2 separate regions of the Homo sapiens genome follow, and region 2 is linked to region 1. The links are contacts of gene promoters, found by promoter capture Hi-C in blood cells and fetal thymus (Javierre and others, 2016). All regions are on one chromosome and are shown on one strand. Each heading gives the region's core, a stretch centred on a gene start or on the middle of the fragment in contact. The rest is flanking DNA. Distances are from core to core; before and after follow the strand shown.

Region 1 (7,499 bases), core at 614-3,113:
CAGGAGGGAATGGCTGGGAAACACTGTTGACAGAAAACAGCACCGTGGGATCGTCGTGTGCATGACACGGTCGGCCGGGTTCTCTGGGTGATAATTTCCTTCTGCAAAGGCAAGACCTCGCTGTGGTTGGGTCATTAAAGGCCAGGCGGCAGTTATTTTTTCAGGATTCCAGGTGACATCCTAGGGGCTGTGAGAGCTGCAGCTCCCTGAGGAGCCCCTTCTTCTCCCTGCCCCAGTGAGCAGCATGTCCCTCTTCCGACTGTAAATTACACGAGCATATTTCCCCATGCAGCGATCTGTGCAGTATGCCATTGATTCATTGTATGATAGACATAATCAGCCTTTACATCCTAACCTAAGACCCACATGAGGTGCGCGCCCTTTGCCCTTCTCTCTTCATCAGCCTACTGGGGCTTATGAGTTGCAGGGACTCCAAGTCAACTTTCACATTTACATTCTGCCCTAAATCTGTGTTCCTCTGTCCTCCATCCTCAGGATATGTCCATGCTGGCTAGAGAGGCAGGATGACACGTGGACGCCAGCACGGATGTGTGTGGCGTCGGGCAGTGAGCTGCTCTGGCCCCGACCTCTTCTCTGTGAAAAGGCACAACAGTATTCAATACATATAAACTATGTTCTTAAGTCACTTGTCTTCAGAGGCCTTCTTCATTGAGGAAGACAACAGGGGTTCTGGTTGGGGAGCCAGGCCTTACAGTAGTTCTTGAAGGAGCTGCACAGCAGGTCATGGGTACTGTGAGTGTGCACTTCGTCTAATTATTAACAGTGCCTCCGTTCACTCTCAACGGTGCCCCAGTTAGGACGGTAGACTATCTCATCACCACTATGCGTGAGGAGCCTGGGAACATGGTCAGAACCATTTTACTCATACAAGTTTGCAGAGGCCTTTAAAGCAAGCCTCTTGGCCCTCTGTTATTGAATGCTGGCCTCTGCTAGGTGCTGCAGGTAGCAAAAGATAAAAGATGTCGTGCTGTTCCGTGTGGACAGGAGCTGGCTATTTAAAGTGGAATGGAGGACTCAAGTACATCTTCATGGGCAGGGAAGAGATCAAAGGCTGTGGACGACGAATACAGAATTATCCTCTGGTCCACCACGTAGCATGCATGCAGAGATAAGCCACTGTGACCAGTCACATCAAGATTCATAGACTTATGCCTAATTTAGAGAACTGACTTGCCAGGTTTGTAATACTAACTTAATAGTGGGTTTTCTGCTGCTGGTAGTGGTGGTTTGGCGGCTGGAGAGCACTGCCTTCCAGTGAAGCTTTGAAAGAGCCGTCCCATGCCCTGCCAACTGTCCAAGACAACTGACAGCAGATCCGACACCTCCATGTAGACACAGATCCAAAACTCACTTTAAAATACTAATCACAGAAGGGGCCGAAAGCAGTCACCATAGTGGCCCAGGAGAGCAGGATCAGTGGTGCCCTGTCGGACATGGGAGAGCCGGTGGCGGCGCTGTGCCGCCTACGCCAGCAGCAGATTCAGCTGCCATCACCAGGTTAATGACCGAAAGCCCGCCCCCGGGGCTCAGCTCGGAGCGCGGCCGGAGGACAGCGGTCCCCTCCTGGCAAGGGCACGGAGCCCCGCAGTGGGCAGCGGCCAGAGGACCCGGGTCCCAGTAAGCGCAGCGCCCGCCGTGGGAGCCACAGCAGCTTGGGGCTGGCTCCCTCCCCAGGCGGAGACTGGGGTGTGCCCCACCGACCCGACCCAGGCTCCCGGGCCCCACTCACCGGCTTGCTGGGCGGCGGCCGGCGCAGTCGCCGCCGGGCGGGCAGCTCGGGCTGGCGGAGGCGGCGGGGCTCACGGCGCGCACGCCGCCCGGGCCCTGTGTACACACGTGACCGTCGGCCCCGCCCCCGGCCGGCGAGCGGCAGCCATGCCTGGCCCCGCCCCCAGCCTTGGTCCCGCCCTGGCCTCCGCCCCCCGGCCCCGCCCTCGCGGCTAGACCGCGGGGAACCGCTCGGACCAGTGAGGTTGGGGGGCGGTGGCGGTGGAGGCAGTGCTGGTTGTGTAACCTGAGACCAGCCATTTGACGAACTCGTGCGAGATTCCCTGTGGGAGGACACACACCCAGGGCTCTGGGAGTTTTTGAGAATTCTCTTAGTGCCCAGCGCGGTTTCTTTTTACAGGCGCTGGTGCCTATTTTGCTGAGTCAGAATATACCCTAATCTGCAGGGTGCAGGCCCCACCGCCCTCCAAAGGAAATGAGTGGCTGCAAGTTAGTCCTTCCAGGTACACCTGCCCCTCTTTCTTCACCGAAGTTTGCTTGCTGTTTCCAAAGTCACCAATTACTTCCTGGTTTTAGGATTTTCTTTGTAAACGGAACACTCACAGGAAAGCCGTTTAAAGAAACACATTGCTGCCTGATTACTTTTGTAGCTATTGTTACAAGTTAAACATTGGAAAAGTTGAAACAAGGACATTTACTTTGCTGTAATTTTTGAGGTGAAACAGTCCCCCCTGCAGCACATTCTGGTTCAGGATCTAAGAACATTTCTGAAAATCAAAGCATGTGGGTTGCACAGTTCCGCATAGACTTGCTGTGAGCTGCGGGCCGAGTGGAACACCAGCAGGAAGAATAGCGGCCACTGGCCCTCCGCTGCATGATGCTGTGGCCTACTGTGTTCAGGGATGTACCTCAGCCACCTTCCTGGACAGGACGGCTTCCTGACCGTGGGTCGGAGTGGGACGTCGGGATCAGCTTTCTATTCCAGCGGGAGGGCAGGGAGAGGCTCACCACGGCCCACGCCTGCTGATGTGATACTGACTTGCTGCCCAGCCCGGCACCAGGTCCCTGGCACAGTGGATGCAGCCCGGGCCCTGTGTGCCCAGAGGTGCCGGGTACTGATCTTACTTGCCAAAGTCAGTCACAAGCAGCCAACACCGATACCTGAGGGCGTATTCTGTGTCAGGTTCTGTTCTGAGCCTCAACCATTGTTTTGAGGTAGATACGTCCGTATTTCATCAAACCTAAGACACGATTGATTAGTGTTAGCTATGCCATTACTTTATGGATTACTAAAAAGAAGGCCCTCTGCCCACTGCATTCCGACATACTGCTGATTTTAAGGCGCAGCCTCACATTAGAGATGATAAAGTGAGAGTACGCCTTAGCGTCAATGAGATAGGTCACCATGTGCATTTTAATATTTTTTTTTTTTAAAGACAGAGTTTCTGTCATGTTGCCCAGGCTGGAGTGCAATGACACGATCTTGGCTTACTGCAGCCTCAGCCTCCTGAGTAGCTGGGATTACAGGTGCGTGCCACCATGCCCAGCTAATTTTTTTTTTTTTTTTTGTAGTAGAGATGGGGTTTCACCATGTTGGTCCGGCTGGTCTCGAACTCCTGACCTCAAGTGATCCGCCTGCCTGGGCTTCCCAAAGTGCTGGGATTACAGGTGTGAGCCACTGTGCCCGGCCATGCATTTTAAATTTAATTGTGAAAACTTAAGCAACTTAGCCCAGGTCACACTGCAGGCCGTGGAGCCAGGATTTGAACCCAGGGGTATTCTGGCTTTTTAGATCAGGGTTTGGGACTTTGGGCCCTCCTAGCAGCCCGCCTAAGAGTAAGCTTCGTTATCTCCATGGTATAAATGGCCCAAGACCTCAGAATCCCTGGTCAGAGTATGCACCGTGCTGTCTGGTCCCTGTAATGCCAGGCTCTGTGGGTCCTACCCACAGGGGTGCTCTGTGGCTGGGGAATGCTAGAGGTTAGCTTCCTCTGAGCCACTGAGCTTTCAGGTCACTGCAGACCGCCTTATCTGCAGAGACTTCCTGTGCCAAGCAGGCCAGTCCTGCCAGGGAGAATGGCAGAAAGCTCGTGTGTGTCCTGGGGAGATCGTCAGAGGGAACCACCCTCCACCTGAACCACAATAAGTACTCGTAGCTGGAGGTGTAAACACTCTCCAGAGGCTGCAGCTGCGTATCCAAGGGTCCTGGCCAGCCCCTGTACAAGACTCAGTTGGTGGGGGGAAGGGTGGGCACAGATTGGGGCGTAGGGGGGCGTGTGGCCCTGACTCAGCTTCGCGGTTGCACCCTAGTCTAGTGTTGATGGTTGAAGTCACGTGGACGTGGCCTCCCCTGTGTGGCTGCTGAGGGTGTTTGAGGGCAGTTGTGTGCTCCTGGCCTGGGGTCATGTGTTTGTGGCTGTGTGCCGTGGCTGCTGAGGGCATTTGAGGGCAGTTGTGCGCTCCTGGCCTGGGGCCGTGCCTCTGTGGTTGTGTGCCGTGTGTGTTGCGGGTGGGGGGTGCCCTAGTTGTGCACCTGATTCTGCAGCCCCGCACACTGCCGAGGCTCCTGTGTGCCGTGTGTGTTGCGGGTGGGGGATGCCCTAGTTGTGCACCTGATTCTGCAGCCCCGCGCACTGCCGAGGCTGCTGTGATGCAGCCGCGTGTCTCACGGAGATGTTGGGGCCGCCCTTCCCCTTCCCCTGCCGCATTCAGGCGGGTCGGCAGGCTTTCTTGCTTATTCTGAGTGGCGGTCCGGAAGGTCAGCTGCACGCCACCCAGGGATCCGGGGCTGCTGGTCAGGAGCTGGAGAGGGGCCCAGCTGGCCTGGGTCTGTCTGCACGTGGGCTTTCTCGGGGGGGCGGGGAGTGGTGGGAAAAGCTGGCTGGCGTTCCCCTCGGAGATGAACCTTCTCTAGTGATTGTGTTGGCAGAGTGAGTCTGATAGTGTGTGCCGTGCTGATCACGGACAAGGAATATTTTGCAACGAACTTCCTAGTTCTTGTGAGTATGGCTTGTGACTTTCTTTGTGGCCTGTTGATTATAAGGCGCACCCTGACGTTACAGATGATAAAATGAGAGTGAGCCTTAGCATAAGTGAGACAGCATGTCATCATCTGACACTCTGTGCATGTGTTAGTAAAACGTGGTGTTGTTCAGAGCCCCCATAAACGGCAGTAACATTAGTAAGGAATTGTGGAGTCCCTGGGCAGAGCCCAGGTCCCCTTCCCCGCAGCGCGGACCCCAGGTCCCGTTCCCCGCAGCGCGGACCCCAGGTCCCGTTCCCCTGCAGCGCGGACCCCAGGCCCCCTTCCCCGCAGCGCGGACCCCAGGCCCCCTTCCCCGCAGCGCGGACCCCAGGTCCCCTTCCCCGCAGCGCGGAGCCCAGGTCCCCTTCCCCGCAGCGCGGAGCCCAGGTCCCCTTCCCCGCAGCGCGGAGCCCAGGTCCCGTTCCCTGCAGTGCGGAGCCCAAGTCCTATTCTGGAGCATGTGGCCACCACCTTGCCGTGCAGGGGCCTCCCTCCCTCCTGCAGTCTCTCCATTCCCTCTTCCTAAATTCCGTCTGCACAGCTTCCAGCCTGGACCTTTTCCATGTTCTGCAGAAGCAGCTGTTCCCACAGGGAACGTGGGAGGTGCCCAGGATGGGTCTCCAGCATACTGCCGAGCCTCTGGCTTCGGGTTGACCCCGGGAGGCACTGTCAGCTGGAGGCCCGGCATGCAGCAGCCACTCACTCACGGAGCGCGGCTGCAGCCGGCACGTCTGCCTTTGCTCATCCTCCCAGCCCTGCTCCGAGCTGCGCCTTCTCGTTGTTTATGTGTTCTAGACGCTAGGCTTTTGTGTATGTGTGGTTTGTACATATTTTGTCCCAGTCCATAGCTTATCTCTTACATCCTCTTAATGAGGGTTTTGCAGAGAAAAGGCTGTTTTCTTTTTAATTTTGGTGAAGTCTAATTTATCCTTTTTTTTTTTTTTGTTCTTTTTAATTTTAAGGATCTGCTTTTGGTGTCATGGTTAAGAATTCCTCAATGACTCCCAGGTCCCAAACATTTTCTCCTACATTTTCTTATCAAAGTTTTATAGTTTTACATTTGACATTTAAATAGATGATCTATTTGAGTTCATTTTTTGTGAGGTTTAGGTTGTTGTTTTGGTTTTGTTTTTTGTTTTTGAGACAGGGTCTCACTCTGTCATGCAGGCTGGAATGCAGTGGTGCAATCATAGCTCACTGTAGCCTTGAACTCCCAGGCTCAAGCAATCCTCACTCCTCAGCCTCCTGAGTACCTGGGAGTACAGGTGCGTGCCACCATGCTTGTCTAATTTTTAAAGTTTTTTTGCAGAGATGGGGGGTCTCACTGTGTTGCCCAGGCTGGTCTCAAACTCCTGGCCTCAAGCAATCCTCCCACCTCAGCCTCCCAAGCAGCTGGGAATACAGGTATGTGCCAGCATGCCCAGCCTGGATTTTTTTTTTTTTTTTTTTTTAAATTTATTTTTTTATTGATAATTCTTGGGTGTTTCTCACAGAGGGGGATTTGGCTGGGTCATGGGACAATAGTGGAGGGAAGGTCAGCAGATAAACAAGTGAACAAAGGTCTCTGGTTTTCCTAGGCAGAGGACCCTGCAGCCTTCCGCAGTGTTTGTGTCCCTGATTACTTGAGATTAGGGATTGGTGATGACTCTTAACGAGCATGCTGCCTTCAAGCATCTGTTTAACAAAGCACATCTTGCACCGCCCTTAATCCATTTAACCCTGAGTGGACACAGCACATGTTTCAGAGAGCACAGGGTTGGGGGTAAGGTCACAGATCAACAGGATCCCAAGGCAGAGGAATTTTTCTTAGTGCAGAACAAAATGAAAAGTCTCCCATGTCTACTTCTTTCTACACAGACACGGCAACCATCCGATTTCTCAATCTTTTCCCCACCTTTCCTGCCTTTCTATTCCACAAAGCCGCCATTGTCATCCTGGCCCGTTCTCAATGAGCTGTTGGGCACACCTCCCAGACGGGGTAGTGGCCGGGCAGAGGGGCTCCTCACTTCCCAGTAGGGGCGGCCGGGCAGAGGCGCCCCTCACCTCCCGGACGGGGCGGCTGGCCGGGCGGGGGGGCTGACACCCCCCCACCTCCCTCCCGGACGGGGCGGCTGGCCGGGCAGAGGGGCTCCTCACTTCCCAGTAGGGGCGGCCGGGCAGAGGCGCCCCTCACCTCCCGGACGGGGCGGCTGGCCGGGCGGGGGGGCTGACCCCCCCCCCCACCTCCCTCCCGGACGGGGCGGCTGGCCGGGCGGGGGGCTGACACCCCCACCTCCCTCCCGGACGGGGCGGCTGGCCGGGCAGAGGGGCTCCTCACTTCCCAGTAGGGGCGGCCGGGCAGAGGCGCCCCTCACCTCCTGGACGGGGCGGCTGGCCGGGCGGGGGGGCTGACCCCCCCCACCTCCCTCCCGGACGGGGCAGCTGGCCGGGCGGGGGGCTGACACCCCCACCTCCCTCCCGGACGGGGCGGCTGGCCGGGCAGAGGGGCTCCTCACTTCCCAGTAGGGGCGGCCGGGCAGAGGCGCCCCTCACCTCCCGGACGGGGCAGCTGGCCGGGCAGGGGGGCTGACCCCCCCCACCTCCCTCCCGGACGGGGCGGCTGGCCGGGCGGGGGGCCGACACCCCCACCTCCCTCCCGGACGGGGCGGCTGGCCGGGCAGAGGGGCTCCTCACTTCGCAGTAGGGGCGGCCGGGCAGAGGCGCCCCTCACCTCCCAGACGGGGCG
Region 2 (6,794 bases), core at 1-2,500, 110 kb before region 1:
GCAGTAAATACGCTTATTGATTTGAATAACTGCAGCCTTGACATAGTATTTAGGTGACTCCCAGAGTACACAGCAGAAACTGAAAGAGGACCTAAGGAAATGAGCTTGCCCCGAGTCCAGAGGTTTGAGACTTGTTGTTGACTTTTCAGATGGTTCCCAGCCCGTGTTTACTTTGTCTCTGGATGGGTCACAGGTCATTTTAGTGAACTCTGCCACTTGACCGTGGTGGCAGTGGTAATGTGGGTGGCCCAGCATTCTGTGCTTTGACCAGTGTTGGCCAGGGTCTGACCCTCCAGCCATTTTTAGGCCATCACGGTGGGTGGGGAGGGTGACTCACATTCCCTGCGTTTACTAGGCACGGATGACTAAGCCAGACTGCCCAGCTTGTCTTCCCACTGCCCCTTCCTGCCCCAGCATGGGGTGGGGTCTGGCTGGAGACCGTTTACTAATACTTTATTTCATTTGACCAAATGAGGAAGCACCACCACCTGTGACTCTCCCAGCTCGGGCTGTAGACGGGTGTGCTCATAATTCCGTGAGCACCTGCCACCCGTTCCATGTCGGTTGCCACCTCGGTTTTCTCATTGACCTTTCCATCAATTCCTGCCCTGGCTCAGGTTTTTAGCCATGCTGGGCGTTAGCTGCTGGGCGGTCCACCCCTTCGGAGCCCCCAGCTCAGGTTTTTAGCCTTGCTGGGCCTTCAGCTGCTGGGCGGTCCACCCCTTCGGAGCCCCCAGCTCAGGTTTTTAGCCTTGCTGGGCCTTCAGCTGCTGGGCGGTCCACCCCTTCGGAGCCCCCAGCTCAGGTTTTTAGCCTTGCTGGGCCTTCAGCTGCTGGGCGGTCCACCCCTTCGGAGCCCCCAGCTCAGGTTTTTAGCCTTGCTGGGCCTTCAGCTGCTGGGCGGTCCACCCCTTCGGAGCCCCCAGCTCAGGTTTTTAGCCTTGCTGGGCCTTCAGCTGCTGGGCGGTCCACCCCTTCGGAGCCCCCAGCTCAGGTTTTTAGCCTTGCTGGGCCTTCAGCTGCTGGGCGGTCCACCCCTTCGGAGCCCCCAGCTCAGGTTTTTAGCCTTGCTGGGCCTTCAGCTGCTGGGCAGTCCACCCCTTCGGAGCCCCCAGCTCAGGTTTTTAGCCTTGCTGGGCGGTCCACCCCTTTGGAGCCCTCACAACCTTGGCCTGCAGCCAGTGACGGTCGTTAGTACCTGGGAGCTCACCCTAGGTACACGTGGCCTCATCTGGGCGCAAGCAACTCTCTGTGTACGTAGAAGCCACTGGGGAAACCGCAAAGGGATCAGGCCGTTGGCGACTGAGGGGAGCTGGAGGGTCTTTGTGGTCCATGTTTCCCTCCATCTCCTCCCTGTGGAGGTGTCTGGGCAGGCTCTGTTCTCACCTGGGCGGTGCCAGCCTGAGATGGCCCCAGCTGGTTTCTGCAGTCGGCTGAAGTCCATTCGTTGAAACTTCACTAGACTCCTCAGGGCAGCTGATGCCCACATTCTAGAGATGGCTGCCGCTAATCCATGACCCAGTGATGCTTTGTTCTCGGAGGGCTCGGGAGACCGGTTTTTGTCCTCTCTTTGTGTTTAAGTGTGCCGCACAGGAGTACTCGTTTAAAACTTCTGTGAGTTTAAGTTGCATGAGTCTCAGATGCCATCTTACCTTTGTTATTTTTAGGATGTTCACGTCCCAGTATGCCCACTCTGTAATACCCCCATCCCAGTAAAAAAGGGCCAGATACCAGACGTGGTGGTTGGTGATCACATTGACAGAGACTGTGACTCTCACCCTGGGAAGAAGAAAGAGAAGGTAAGGACAGAGCCCGCCTCAGTTCCTTCATCTGGGAAGCCTGGTTTTTCCTTGGGAAGAGTCAGTTTGCTACCTGAAAATTACTCCCAATAGTTTATGTACAAAGTAGAAAAGAAGAGTCCTAACGCTGCGTTATCCCTGTCCTAAACTGCGAGGGGCCTGAGTTTTCAGTTTTATAAATGTTCTTTAATATGAGGGATCCCAGGTCAGGTTCGTCTTTCTTGACTGGAATTTACTAGTTTCCCTCCTGAGATGGAGAATTCACATGGCTTTCTAGATCCATTCTGTTCATGTGCGTTTCATTTGTTTGTTTGTTTGTTTGTTTGTTTTGAGACAGTCTTGCTCTGTCACCCAGGCTGGAGTGCCATGGTGAATGGTGCCGTCTCGGCTCATTGCAACCTCTGCCTCCCGGGTTAAAGCGATTCTCCTGTCTCAGCCTCCCGAGTAGCTGGGACTACAGGCGCATGCCACCACATCCAGCTAACTTTTGTATTTTTAGTAGAGACAGGGTTTCACTATGTTGGCCGGGCTGGTCTTGAACTCCTCACCTTATGATCTGCCCGCCTCAGCCTCCCAAAGTGCTGAGATTATAGGTGTGAGCCACCACGCCCAGCTCAAGGAGCTTCTCTAGTGAACTGGCTGCTGTCAGGCTTAATCCGTTCCTAGTCATGGGTCCTGGTTGGTGGTTACCAACTATCTTAGTATATGATGTTCAATACTTTACAGTTATATTACCATAAACCAAATAACTTTTGGTCTCAAACATAGAGAATAAAATCAGTGTTCCTTAGTCTGCCACACAAAATTCTCTGTGCGGAAGCTTGCTCTGGTCCCCACTTTCTGGCCCTGTCTAGCTCTCCCTGCTGTGGCTGTGCCCTGGGACCCTCAGCCTCTGGAGGTCTCTTAAGCCTCTGAGACATCACAGCTCTCTGGCACACCCGCTTCTTCCACATGACACAGCTTCCCTTGCTGGGGGCTCACCCAGCACTGCCCCAAGGCCCCCACACAGGAATGCCCTCCCGGCTGCTCCTGGCCCGCTGTGCTCCTGTCCTTTTGGTGGGCACGCCCTGTGTTCTGCCTGCATCCCTGCACGGGTCCCTCCTGCATGGTCGCTCAGCATGGCCATGCCTGCCTGCCTTGGCCGGAGGGCCACCCCCGGCTGCTGGAACCCTCCCCACTCTCCTCACTGCCTTCCCCTCTTGGAGTTCTGACTCCTAGGACTTTATATCGCTGCCTACATCCTGGCACCAAAAAAAAAAAAAAAAAAAATGACCGGTGGGTACTGGGACATGATAGATATTCCCTTGATGGGGACAACCTCCACTGTCCCAGGGCTCCTGGAGCCAGTGCCTCTGTGGGGCTTGCCTGTCATCTGTGCTTGGCCTCCTTCCCTCCCGCTCCCTGCTTCCTGGCTGCCTCTCTCTGTTGTCCTCCCAGCAGCACCTCCGGGCCATCTTCACGGGAATCCCCAGCTTCAATGCTGACCGGCTTTTTTTTTTCTTTCTTTTTAAAGGGACGAACTCTTGCTCTGTCGCCCAGGCTGGAGTGCAGTGGCACAATCTCAGCTCACTGCCGCCTCTGCCTCCTCTAGCAATTCTCCTGCCTCAGCCTCCCAAGTAGCTGGGATTACAGGCACCACGCCACCATGCCTGGCTAATCTTTTATATTTTAGTGGAGATGGGGTTTCACCATGTTGCCCAAGCTTGTCTCGAACTCCTGAGCTCAGGCAATCCACCCATCTTGGCTTCCCAAAGTGCTGGGATGACAGGCGTGAGCCACTGGGTCCAGCCCCATGTTCTTCTTACCTGCACTGAGATGGTCAAATGAAACTTTGCATCTGTACTCTGTGCAGACAGGAACTGTGTCCAGTTTAAATGGGAATGTTCTTACCGGAGGCTGTTAAAGAATTTAAGGCCAGCACAGTGGCTCACACAGGTAATCTTAGCACTTTGGGAGGCCAAGGCGGGAGGATCACCTGAGGCTGAGTTTGAGACCAGCCTGGGCAGCATGGCAAGACCCCATCTCTGTGAAAATAGACAAAATTAGCTGGACGTGGCGGTGTGTGCCTGTAGTACCAGGTACTAGGCTGAAGCAGGAGAATCACTTGAGTCCAGGAGGCAGAGGTTGCAGTGAGCCAAGATCAAGCCACTGCACTCCAGCCTGGGCAACAGAGCGAGACCCTGTCTCCAAAAAAAGAATTGCTTGTTGAAGTCACTTTGCTCTCTTAGATTTTTACATACCGTTGCTCAAAAGAGGGCTGCAAGAAGAAAGAGATGCTGCAGATGGTATGTGCCCAATGTCACGGCAACTTCTGTATCCAGCACAGACACCCTTTGGACCACAGCTGCAGACACGGGAGTCGCCCCACCATCAAAGCTGGGTGAGAAGAGACTCCGCTGCGATGGCTCGGAGCACGCAGTAGCATGCGTGGAAGCAGCTTACACTCTAGTGGGAAGTGGAGCCCCATTGAGCACCATCCCACACTGGCTGCTGATCTTGTTTGTTGAGGGAGATGGGACTATAATAAAATTGAATGCTGAAGTTGATTCTAGTTGTTCTCATTGCCCACTGCTGCCGTCACCAAGTACTAAAAACTGGGTGGCTCAAACCATAGAAATCGGTTCTTTCACAGTTCTGGGGGCTGGAGGTCCAGGCGCAGGATGTCGGCAGGGCCAGCCCCTTCTGAGGGCTGCGGGGAGCATCGGCTGCGTCTCCCCAGCATCTCGGGGCTCGTCAATGCACAACCCCCGTCTCCACCTTCATCTTCACATGGCATTCTGTGTGTGTCCCGACTTCCCCTTTTTGTAAGGATGCTGGTCATGTGATCCCACAGTCGTGACCTCTGAAAAGACCCTGTGTCCACAGAAGGTCACACTCTGAGGTCCCGAGTCTAGGGCTCCAGCATGTCTTGTGGGGACATGATTCAACTCGTAATGCTAATGTTTGTCAAATCGAGAAGCATCTGTATTTGCCTCAACTGTTGCACCTGGTGGTGTCTGGCGTCCATCCCTGGGCCAGGCCAGTGGTAGTTGCTTACCTGCAGGAAGCTGTGTGGGTTCTTGCGGTCAGCACATGGAGGCTGAGCTGATCCATCCACCCTCTCTGTAGGTGCTCACCCATGACAGTCTCTGAATCCAGGCCGTTGGGAGATTTCCTCACCCTGGCTCCTGGCGGGCTGGCCCAGCGACTCGGGTACTGGTTCACCCGGCTCATGTGAACGCAATTTCGTCTGTGTGGGGTGCTGCAGCTCTTGGTTGGTGAACACGGAAAGGTTGCTGTGTGTAACTGCACAGTGTGACGCGATGCTCCAGTGGTGCGACTTCGTCAGGATGGATGAAGGACACAGGACTGGGACCCCAAGTTACAGAAGCAGCTCGCTCCAGCACAACCTTTCGGCAGCAGCAGCATCATACAGCTGGTTTCTGAAACACCTTTTCTGCCCTCCAAGATCCTCTGACATGATCAACATTCCTGCATCATCAAGACAAACCTGAAAAGAGCTGTTCTTTGTTCTTTTTGGTGGAAAGTGATGAGGTCCTTCCCGTTTGCACTGCCGTGTGGGTTATTTCCACTCTAGGTAACTTCCGCCTTCAGGTACTCCCCATACTTCTAATGGCCCAGCAGCACCTCCGGGCCATCTTCACGGGAATCCCCAGCTTCAATGCTGGCTGGCTTTGCTTTTTTTTTTTTAAAAGGGATGAAGTCTTGCTCTATTGCCCAGGCTGGAGTGCAGTGGCACAATCTCAGCTCACTGCCACCTCTGCCTTCCAGGTTCTAGCAATTCTCCTGCCTCAGCCTCCCGAGTAGCTGGGATTACAGGCACCAAACTGCCATGCCCGGCTAATCTTTTATATTTTAGTGAAGATGGTTAGCCTGAAACCTTGAAACTTCCCCACTGAAATACACAAACTAGGCCGGGCGTAGTGGCTCACACCTGTAATCTCAGCACTTTGGGAGGGCAAGGTGGGTGGATCACCTAAGGTCAGGAGTTCAAAACCAGCAAACACCAGACAGCTCACTTGCGCTCTTCACCATGTCACCTCTGTAACGATGTGACTATCTGGCCAAGAAGGGGGAAGGACATCCACCTGCCTGGCCGAGGGTTCTTGTCCAGCGGCGGCCACAGGTGCTACTCGCATTGTTTGAGGGCACAGCTGCGTGCCCGTTCCTGACCTCCAAGGGGCTGGGACACTGTGTGAGAGAAGGTGTGTCTTCCTGGACCACTTGTCCCTGCCACGGTCAACTTCTTAAAACAGGCACAGTTCAGCCAGGCGCAGTGGCTCACGCTTGTAATCTCAGCACTTTGGGAGGCGGAGGCAGGCGGATCACCTGAGGTCAGGAGTTTGAGACCAGCCTGGTCAACATGGTGAAACCCCATGTCTACTAAAACAAAAATTAGCCAGGTGTGGTGGTGGTACACGCTTGTAATCCTAGCTACTCAGGAGGCTGAGGCAGGAGAATCACTTGAACCTGGGAGGCGGAGGTTGCAGTGAGCCCAGATTGTGCCACTGCACTCCAGCCTGGGCAACAGAGCAAGACTGAATCTCAAAAAAAAAAAAAAAAAAGGCACAGTTGTCAGCAGCCAGCAAGCCCGAGAGCTGCTTTGCACCTGGATCTATTTCAGCACCAACAAGAAAGTTGCAAAATGCCACCTGTTGAAGATGGCTCTGTCCAGTGATGAAGCAGTGGAAACTTCCAGAAGTGACTTAAAACTACAATGGCAGGAACTAGGGCTTCCACAAGTGCCAGAGATTACAGGAGACTGGGTTTTATAGGTTTGAAGAGCAGAAAGCCAAAACGGGAGGGAAGGGGGGTAGTGAGGTGCACAGTCCTTTGTGGCTCAGATGACAGATGCGGCCTTCGTGGCCTGACACTTTCCACCACCGTCTGATTTTGTGAAGTGATGAACACGGGTAACGTAAATACTGGTGTTAGATTTATACTGACAGCCGCTCTGCTCATCAAGAGTGCAGTGATTTCCTGGGAACTTAGGGG

The links. Contacts are between HindIII fragments. The CHiCAGO score rates a contact against its expected background, and 5 or more counts as called.
Region 2: a fragment that was not itself captured here is called in contact with the fragment with the promoter of GPR146 in region 1 in 2 of 17 cell types (naive B cells and M1 macrophages); the score reaches 5.8 in naive B cells.

What each region holds. Positions count from the first base shown.
Region 1 is chr7:1,038,910-1,046,408 of GRCh38, reverse strand. GPR146 (G protein-coupled receptor 146) reads right to left here and starts at 1,863. Exons shown (of 2, transcript NM_001303473.2): 1 at 1,751-1,863. The region is part of intron 2 of CHLSN (cholesin); the gene reads left to right. RefSeq lists silencers at 1,364-1,413, 1,594-2,083 and enhancers at 2,189-2,744, 4,233-4,740, 5,248-5,755. The HindIII fragment of the contact is 2,309 bases long and covers 1,284-3,592 here.
Region 2 is chr7:1,150,458-1,157,251 of GRCh38, reverse strand. It overlaps ZFAND2A (zinc finger AN1-type containing 2A), which reads left to right. Exons shown (of 5, transcript NM_182491.4): 4 at 1,668-1,799; 5 at 4,028-4,345. The coding sequence ends at 4,183. Among named protein-coding and RNA genes, the nearest start is that of ZFAND2A, 6.3 kb to the left of the region's middle. The HindIII fragment of the contact is 2,743 bases long and covers 1-2,621 here.